Linked DNA regions of Homo sapiens: region 1 is linked to region 2. The links are contacts of gene promoters, found by promoter capture Hi-C in human tissues and cell types (Jung and others, 2019). All regions are on one chromosome and are shown on one strand. The core of a region is centred on a gene start or on the middle of the fragment in contact, and the rest is flanking DNA. Distances in the headings are between cores, read along the strand shown. Region 1 holds the start of LINC01649 (long intergenic non-protein coding RNA 1649). Region 2 holds the start of NHLH2 (nescient helix-loop-helix 2).

Region 1 (3,805 bases), core at 592-3,091, 77 kb after region 2:
CGTGCCTGTAATTCCAGCTACTCAGGAGGATCGCTTGAACTTGGGAGGCAGAGGTTGCAGTGAGCCGAGATTGCGCCATTGCACTCCAGCCTGGGCGACAGAGTGAGACTCCGTCTCAAAAAAAAAAATTCAAAATTAGTAAATCATTAAGAGGAAGAGATAAATTGCCAATAGAAATAATAAATAGGCTTTTATATTATTTAATGATCTAATCAATAAAAAAGAATGAGTTATACGAATATATTTGTAAAATATTTAAATTTATAATTAGACAGGAATGTTTATATTGACAAAGATAATATAAACCATAATACACCATTAGAAGGAGGACATAGATCACAAATTAGTTAATAGTGAATGCCATCAATTCATAGCATATTTAAGATTAGTCATTGAGAGACTGAAATGCCACCTCATCGCAGGAGGCGCCTGGCAGGGATGGAGCTGGTGCGGGCCTGGAAGTAGATGTCCTGGTTCTACTACCAACACCTGCTGGTCACAATGCTCTACATGCTGGAGCCCGAGGAGCGGAAGGTGCTCAATTCCACGCTGGTTTCCATTGATACGCAGGATACATCTTCATGACCCAGCACATCATGGCGATATTGCACTACTTTGAAATTGTACAATAACCAAGATTAGAGGTTCCTTGGGGAAGACCCACCCTACGAAGTTGGAATGACACCATCAGATGTGATAAGAAACTCTTCTAAATGTCAACCTAACCAACCTAAAATTCATGAGTAGAACAGGAAAATCACCGACTCATGTGTTGTGTTCTATATTTTTCATTTTAAAAGAAGCTCTTGCATAGTAGCTTTTGTCTATTTTAACATTGCAGCCATTTGTACTTTGATATCACTATTTTCTTTTCTTTTTTTTTTTTTTTTTTTTTTTTTTTTTTTTGAGATGGAGTTTCACTCTTGTTACGCAGGCTGGAGTGCAATGGTGCAATCTCGGCTCACTGCAACCTCTGCCTCCCAGGTTCAAGCAATTCTCCTGCCTCAGCCTCCCTAGTAGCTGGGATTACAGGCATGTGCCACCACGCCCAACTAATTTTGTATTTTTAGTAAAGATGGGGTTTCTCCATGTTGGTCAGGCTGGTATCAAACTCCCGAACTCAGGTGATCTGCCGGCCTCAGCCTCCCGAAGTGCTGGGATTACAGGCGTGAGCCACGGTGCCCAGGTGACATCACTATTTTCTTAACCTTTGTGACTGTTTCAATATTACCCCCATGAAAGCTTTTTTTTATGTACCTTTGAGTACATTATAATTGTCTTATATTTTAAAGTCATTAGTTGGGCTTTACTGTTCTTGCTATTGTATGACATATACATCTGCCTGGATATATTTTTACTCTTGACCAAAGTTTTATAAGAACAATATAAGATTTAGGGTAGGGGCATGGGGAGGAAGGATATTTTATTAAGAACTACTTAAAAGAACTACTTGCTGGGCACGGTGGCTCACACCTGTAATCCCAGCACTTTGGAAGGCTGAGGCAGGCGGATCACAAGGTTAGGAGATCGAGGCCATCCTGGCTAACACAGTGAAACCCTGTCTCTCCTAAAAATACAAAAAAATTAACTGGGTGTGGTGGCGGGCGCCCGTAGTCCCAGCTACTTGGGAGGCTGAGGCGGGAGAATGGGTGTGAACCCAGGAGGCGGAGCTTGCAGTGAGCCGAGATCATGTCACTGCACTCCAGCCTGGGTGACAGGGCGAGACTGTCTCAAAAAAAAAAAAAAAAAAAAAAAAAGAACTACATATATCAAAATATATTTTATTAAGAGCTACTTATCTGTAAGCTTGAACTCACAAGTATAGTTTTAGCTATCTAGACTCTAACAGCTTTTGCTTTAAAACTATTAAAGCATTTGTGGTTTTTTTGTTTTGTTTTTGTTTTTTTCTTTTTTGAGACCAGAGTCTTGCTCTGTTGCCCAGGCTGGATCTCGGCTGCAACCTCCACCTCCCGGGTTCAAGTGATTCTCCTGCCTCAACCTCCCAAGTAGCTGGGATTACAGGCACCCGCAACCACACTTGGCTAATTTTTGTATTTTTAGTAGAGACGGGGTTTCACCATGTTGGTCAGGCTGGTCTCGAACTCCTGACCTCGTGATCTGCCCGCCTCAGCCTCCCAAAGTGCTGGGATTACAGGCATGAGCCACCGCACCTCGCCGGGTAATGATTCTTGAGACAAGAGGTGGTTAAGTAGCATTATTATGTAATGTTTATATACCATGGAGTTTTTACAAGAAGATAAATCTATTTCCTCTGAGGGCCACTATTAACAATGTACTTCCTTAAATTTAGTTAAGTGATCGTAATACGTGCTGCATTTGCACATTGCATTAAGTTATGATGAGCTGAATTGTTACAAATTATAGCAAAAAGAAGTGTAAACTTGGCTAAAATCCTTCCATTCTTTGTATTTTTTTAAAGATTTTTATTCCTTAAATGCAAAATGACTACCTAATTTTTTTATGTAAATTCATTAAATTCAAAGAGAAAAAAAGATTAGTCATTGAACAGTAACAACAACGAAAACAAATTAGAGATACTCTGAAATCTTAGAGTTCACATATGACAAAAATTTGATGGAAATTTCCTAAAACTGTGATCCCAAGCATTTATGTGATAGTACAAATAATGAGTTATGAAGCTCACAGAAACTTTTCCAAATTCTTAATGAAAAACAAATTTGATCAACCATGCTACTGGAAAGACTAATCTATCTTTATATGTACCCTCTTGATAGAAAATACTACAAAAATCTTTGTTATATGAAGTCGTGACCCAAGAATATATAGAGCCAAAAAATGAAGGCATAATTATATAGGGGTGTCAGGGCAATTAAGTACCATGTATATATATATATTTTTAATTTTGTGATTCTTGTGGCAGTTAAATATTTTTAAAATGTGTAATTGATAGCAATTTCTTTTCTCACTTTAAATCAACACTCAAACCTAATTTTGTATAAATATTCTTGTCATCTTTTTCTTTTAAAAAGCCTCTAAAATTATGTAAGCTTCAGACCCCAAAAGGAGTAACTTATCAAGAGGAAAAGATCCTAGATTCACTTCTGCTTCTACTTATTCTACTTCTGGATTTATTAAACCATTACTCAGATTTTAAAACACACCACACACAAAGAAAAGTTTCTAAAATAAATGAGCTAACATGGATTTTTTTCATATTCTCCATCTTCTTGATAGCCCAGAGATCCTGATACTCTTTGGACTTTGGTAGTGGAATGGTAGATGTGTGTTGAGAATGGAAGGGAGTTAAGGATGGGGTTCTAGAATTCAGATGCCCTCTTAGGGTTTGAAATGTGGGGGAAAAAAAAAGAGAATCACTGCTTATCTTAGTCTGTTCGGGTAGCTGTAACAAAATACCATACCTGAGTGACTTACAAGTAATAGAAATGTTATTTCTCACATTTCTGGAGTCTGGGAAGCCCAAGATCAAGGTGCTAGCAGATTTGGTGTCTGGTAAGGGCTAACTTCCTTGTTCAAAAATGGTGCCTTCTTGCTGTGTCCTCACATAGTGGAAGAGGTGAGGGAAATTTGGGGGGCAGCTCTCATAAGGACACTGATCATTCATGATGGCCTGCCTTCACGAGACTCAGTCACCTCCCAAGGGCCCCCAGTTCCTAACAGCATCACCTATGGCGGTGAGGATTTCAACATATACATTTTAGGAGGATACAAACATTCAGATGATAGGCCAGAGCACTGACCTAGGCAATGGCATCTACAGAAAAGAGAAAAATAATTTACTTTTGACTTGAGGTGTCTTGGGTTT
Region 2 (3,727 bases), core at 1,196-3,695:
ACCGCAGGCCTGTGGGGTCGCGACTGGGTTTTTGTGCCTCTTCCGGCCAAATGCCAACCGCGCTATTCCTCCTCCCTCCCTTCGTCCCCTTCCCGGACAAACGAGCGATTTCGAACAACGAATACATCTGGGTTTTCACGGGGGCGGGGAGACGCGGGGTGCACTTCTCGCCCCGAGGGCCTCCGGCGAAGCAACCCGGCAGCCGCGGCGCCCGAGGGCCTGGCGCTGGTCTGGGGCTGCGCCGGGGGCGCCTGGCTCTGGGGTGCGGCCGGTCAGGAATCCCCATCCTGGAGCGCAGGCGGAGAGCCAGTGGCTGGGGGCGGGAAGGCTTCTTGGACCCCTCGCGCTTCTCCGAAATCGTAAAGAAATGACTAAACAAACGTGGGGGAGCCTTTAAAAAGAAAATTGACTCCGATGCCCTCGCAGGCTCCCGGAGCACCATCTGTCACGCAGACAGCCACACACATAGGGGACCTAGGGACACGGCGACGTGGGATCAGACAATGCGCCCGGCAGTCTGGCGACCACCTTGCGGGAAAATGCCGGCAGCCGGGCCGCTGAGGGAGGAGAGGATGCAGAGGGAAGGGAAGAGAAGGGAAGGGCCCGGGGCGGGGCAGGCGGGGACTAGCGGGTGCAGCGCGTGTTGTCCCGGCGGGAGCTGCATCTCTGCCGGCAAAGTTCGGGCGCTCCCGGAACCGGAGCTCGGCAGGCTGCAGCTGTCCCCGGGTGGCCTGGCCAAGTCCGGGCATGTCGGTGCTTAGCCTTCCTCTAACTTAACTGTGCCCTCTTGGAAACGCCACCTGGCCAGGCTTCTCTGGGGCGCCTGGAGCACTGGCCCGGACTGTGCGCCTTCTGGGAGGGGGCCGCTCAGAACCGCTGGGCTTCCGGGTAATTCGGGCTTCGAGAAAGGGCCCGGCAGGAGGAGAAAGGCCCCTGCAGGGGCTGCACGCACCGCCCCTGGGCGTCGGGAGTGAGGACCAGGCTGAGAACTCGGGGCCCCGGCGTGGGCAGCCTCCACGACGCTCGGCACGGGAGAAATCCGCGTCGGCGACGTATAGGAGCGTTTGCTTCTAGAGAAACAAAAGCAAGGGGATGGGTGATCGGTTCCCAGCACCGCACTTGCAGAGGAGCGAATTGGGCCAAAACAGCTTTAATTTCCCTGCGAGGAAATCAGGTCCTCTACGGCAAAATAAAAACAAATGCTCCCAGAGAGCTGCATGTGACTCCCTACGGGCTTTTCTCGGGTACGTTTATGAGTAGAACAACTTGCACCTACACAGTCAGCTTGAAAGGGCAGAAATAAATAGACGAGTAATGGAAAATCACAATAAGCCACTAAATAGTTGTAGTTCTGGTAAAAAGTTCCTGGGTTGCCCTCAAAGCACATTAAATTCTCCTCTAGATCTTTAAAAATATTCATAAATAGTATGCCGTGTATGCGTTTTATCTCTTTATGGAATGAACTGCATCTATAGATACAGTATGAATAATCTAACTTATTTCAAGCTGAAAAAAATTATTTAAAGGAGTCTTACCTTGCAAAAGCCTTTTTGATAATCTGTTCTCCAATCTTTAGAGTTAAAATTCCAAGGAATAGCGAGGGGAGATTCCGGAAAATATTAAAAGCAGCAAATATTTATTACATTCAAAAATGAAAAAGCAGCTGTCATCTCGCTGGTGTCCGCAGCGAGGGACAATAATATCTCAGGATGTAGACGATATGAATGATTGTTCACTTAGTTGATAGATTTTTTAAAAAACGCTTTTTCCTTTTAATTGTTCTCAAACATTGCAAGAAATTCGTTGATGATTTTTTTAAACGATGTGTTGAAAAGTCTCGTGCCTTTTTTCCTCTTCTAGGTCTCTAAAAATAACAAAAGAGATGCAGAGATAAACACAATCACATCAAAGGGCTGATTCCTCCACTTTCTAATAGCGGAATAATCAATAAGAAAGATGGTTAAGATAAGATTCCGCTCCTATCGTATGCCTTTCTTTTCCTTAATACGGCTGAGCAGAAACTGGGAAGTGCAGGACAGAGATGTGATCTTGCTCAGAAGTGATTTTTTTTTTTTTTTTGAGATAAGGCTTTGTTCAGCTGATATCTCCCCAGTTCCCAGGAACACAATACTGTAACTAGGAGCTAAGGTTGCCTCTTCCTCTTCCCTCACTTACTTGTATGTTGTATAAATAGACACCTATTTTCCAGTTTCAAAGTCTTTCAAGGTTTGGCTATATCCCCCGTCCCCAGCCCCTCTTCTCTTTACCTTGTAGCAAAATATATATAGTCAGTGGCTTGGAGATGCTTGGAGAAAGGTTGGTGAAAAGTGAACGTCTCCTGGAGTAACAGTGACAAGGAAGCAGAGAAAGACGGGAAGAGGGTGGGAGAGCCAGAGCAAAGAGGCAGAGATGCGTGTGTGGCTTCTGGGCTCTCCTGGTACCAATTGATTCAGCCTGGAGATGGTGGAAGAGATAAAGGCTTAGGAAGGGGGATGGAATTTTTTTCCCCTAAATTGATATTTAATGGGAAATCCTATTGGACAGAAACCTGGACATGAGTCACTTAATTGGACTTGACATCTGTCACAGTGTGGGAGTTTTCACAGCCCAAATATTTTAGCAGATCAGATTCCCACTGAATCTGTGCCATAAAATATAACAATTGAAAAGCAGTTCATGATAGAAATCTTAGCCTCTAAACAGTATCTAGCCGTAGTCAGGCTATTTCTCTTTTCCAGATTATTGATGAAATATTTAAGTACAAATAAACAATATATTGACTATCAAAGAATTCCCCTGGCATATTACAAAGCCACCACTTTCCCTTAATATTTAGAAAAATATTTGTGTCCAGAACATGGAAATATATACTATATAAGATGCTGCAATAAAGTATTTAGACATGCAACAGCCAACATTTATTAGAGATCATTTACATTTTAAAAGATACTTCAGTAAGGTTTGATTAAGCATATTAACATTTTTGAGAAATGATCTGCTATGAGACTAACTTATCAATAGATGGTAAGAACCTTTCAATAGATTAAGCCATTGGTGGAACTAGAAAGAGAATCCACATATTCACGGACCACGACATGAGATAATTCTACTTTTCTGTATGTTTGTTTTTCTCTCCACCCACTCATTCATTCAAGCTGAAATATGACATGCTACATGTGTTGATTATTGCACTTCATTCTTGCCCATCTTAACATGCTAATATATTGTACTGCGTGGCAGTGCTTGTGCCAAGATGTAAACACAAATTACCAGTGTGTCCCAGTACATAATGCCTTTGCCTTACATGATCCCATGGCCCTGAATTTGTATACCTTATAATAAAAAATAAAATCTAGTTCAATTATTTTGCCACTTTATGAAGATACTCATAGTTAATATCAATAACATATTATTTGTGATTATTTTAGCTTGTTTTGATCATACAAGCTTAAAGAAATAAAAGAGCATTACAGCCTTACTCCCACCCCGCCAGTTCCTAGGGGAACATTTGTGGAGAGAGGAGTCCTCACTTGTCTTCCTTAATTTTGCCCTAAAAGCAGATTTTATCACCAGGGGAGGCACATTGAGCAGCCCACCCCTGGGAGTGACCCTCCGGGTTTTTCATGGCTTCCACAAGTACTATTTGCCTTTGCCCACATTTTTGCTCCTTTGAGAGATTCCTGGACCACAATGGGGCAGGGGTCGGGGAAAGGAGGGAGTGCCTCCA

What was found. Contacts are between HindIII fragments. The study calls those that stand out against the background at their distance.
Region 1: a contact is called between a fragment that was not itself captured here and the fragment with the promoter of NHLH2 in region 2, in 2 of the 25 tissues and cell types used here (hippocampus and mesendoderm cells).

The regions. Positions count from the first base shown.
Region 1 is chr1:115,916,068-115,919,872 of GRCh38, forward strand. It overlaps LINC01649 (long intergenic non-protein coding RNA 1649), which reads left to right and starts at 3,309. Exons shown (of 3, transcript NR_125969.1): 1 at 3,309-3,492. It also overlaps the pseudogene LOC101928952. The HindIII fragment of the contact is 3,496 bases long and covers 94-3,589 here.
Region 2 is chr1:115,838,681-115,842,407 of GRCh38, forward strand. NHLH2 (nescient helix-loop-helix 2) reads right to left here and starts at 2,446. Exons shown (of 3, transcript NM_005599.3): 1 at 2,268-2,446; 2 at 1,536-1,864. The HindIII fragment of the contact is 10,676 bases long and covers 1-3,727 here.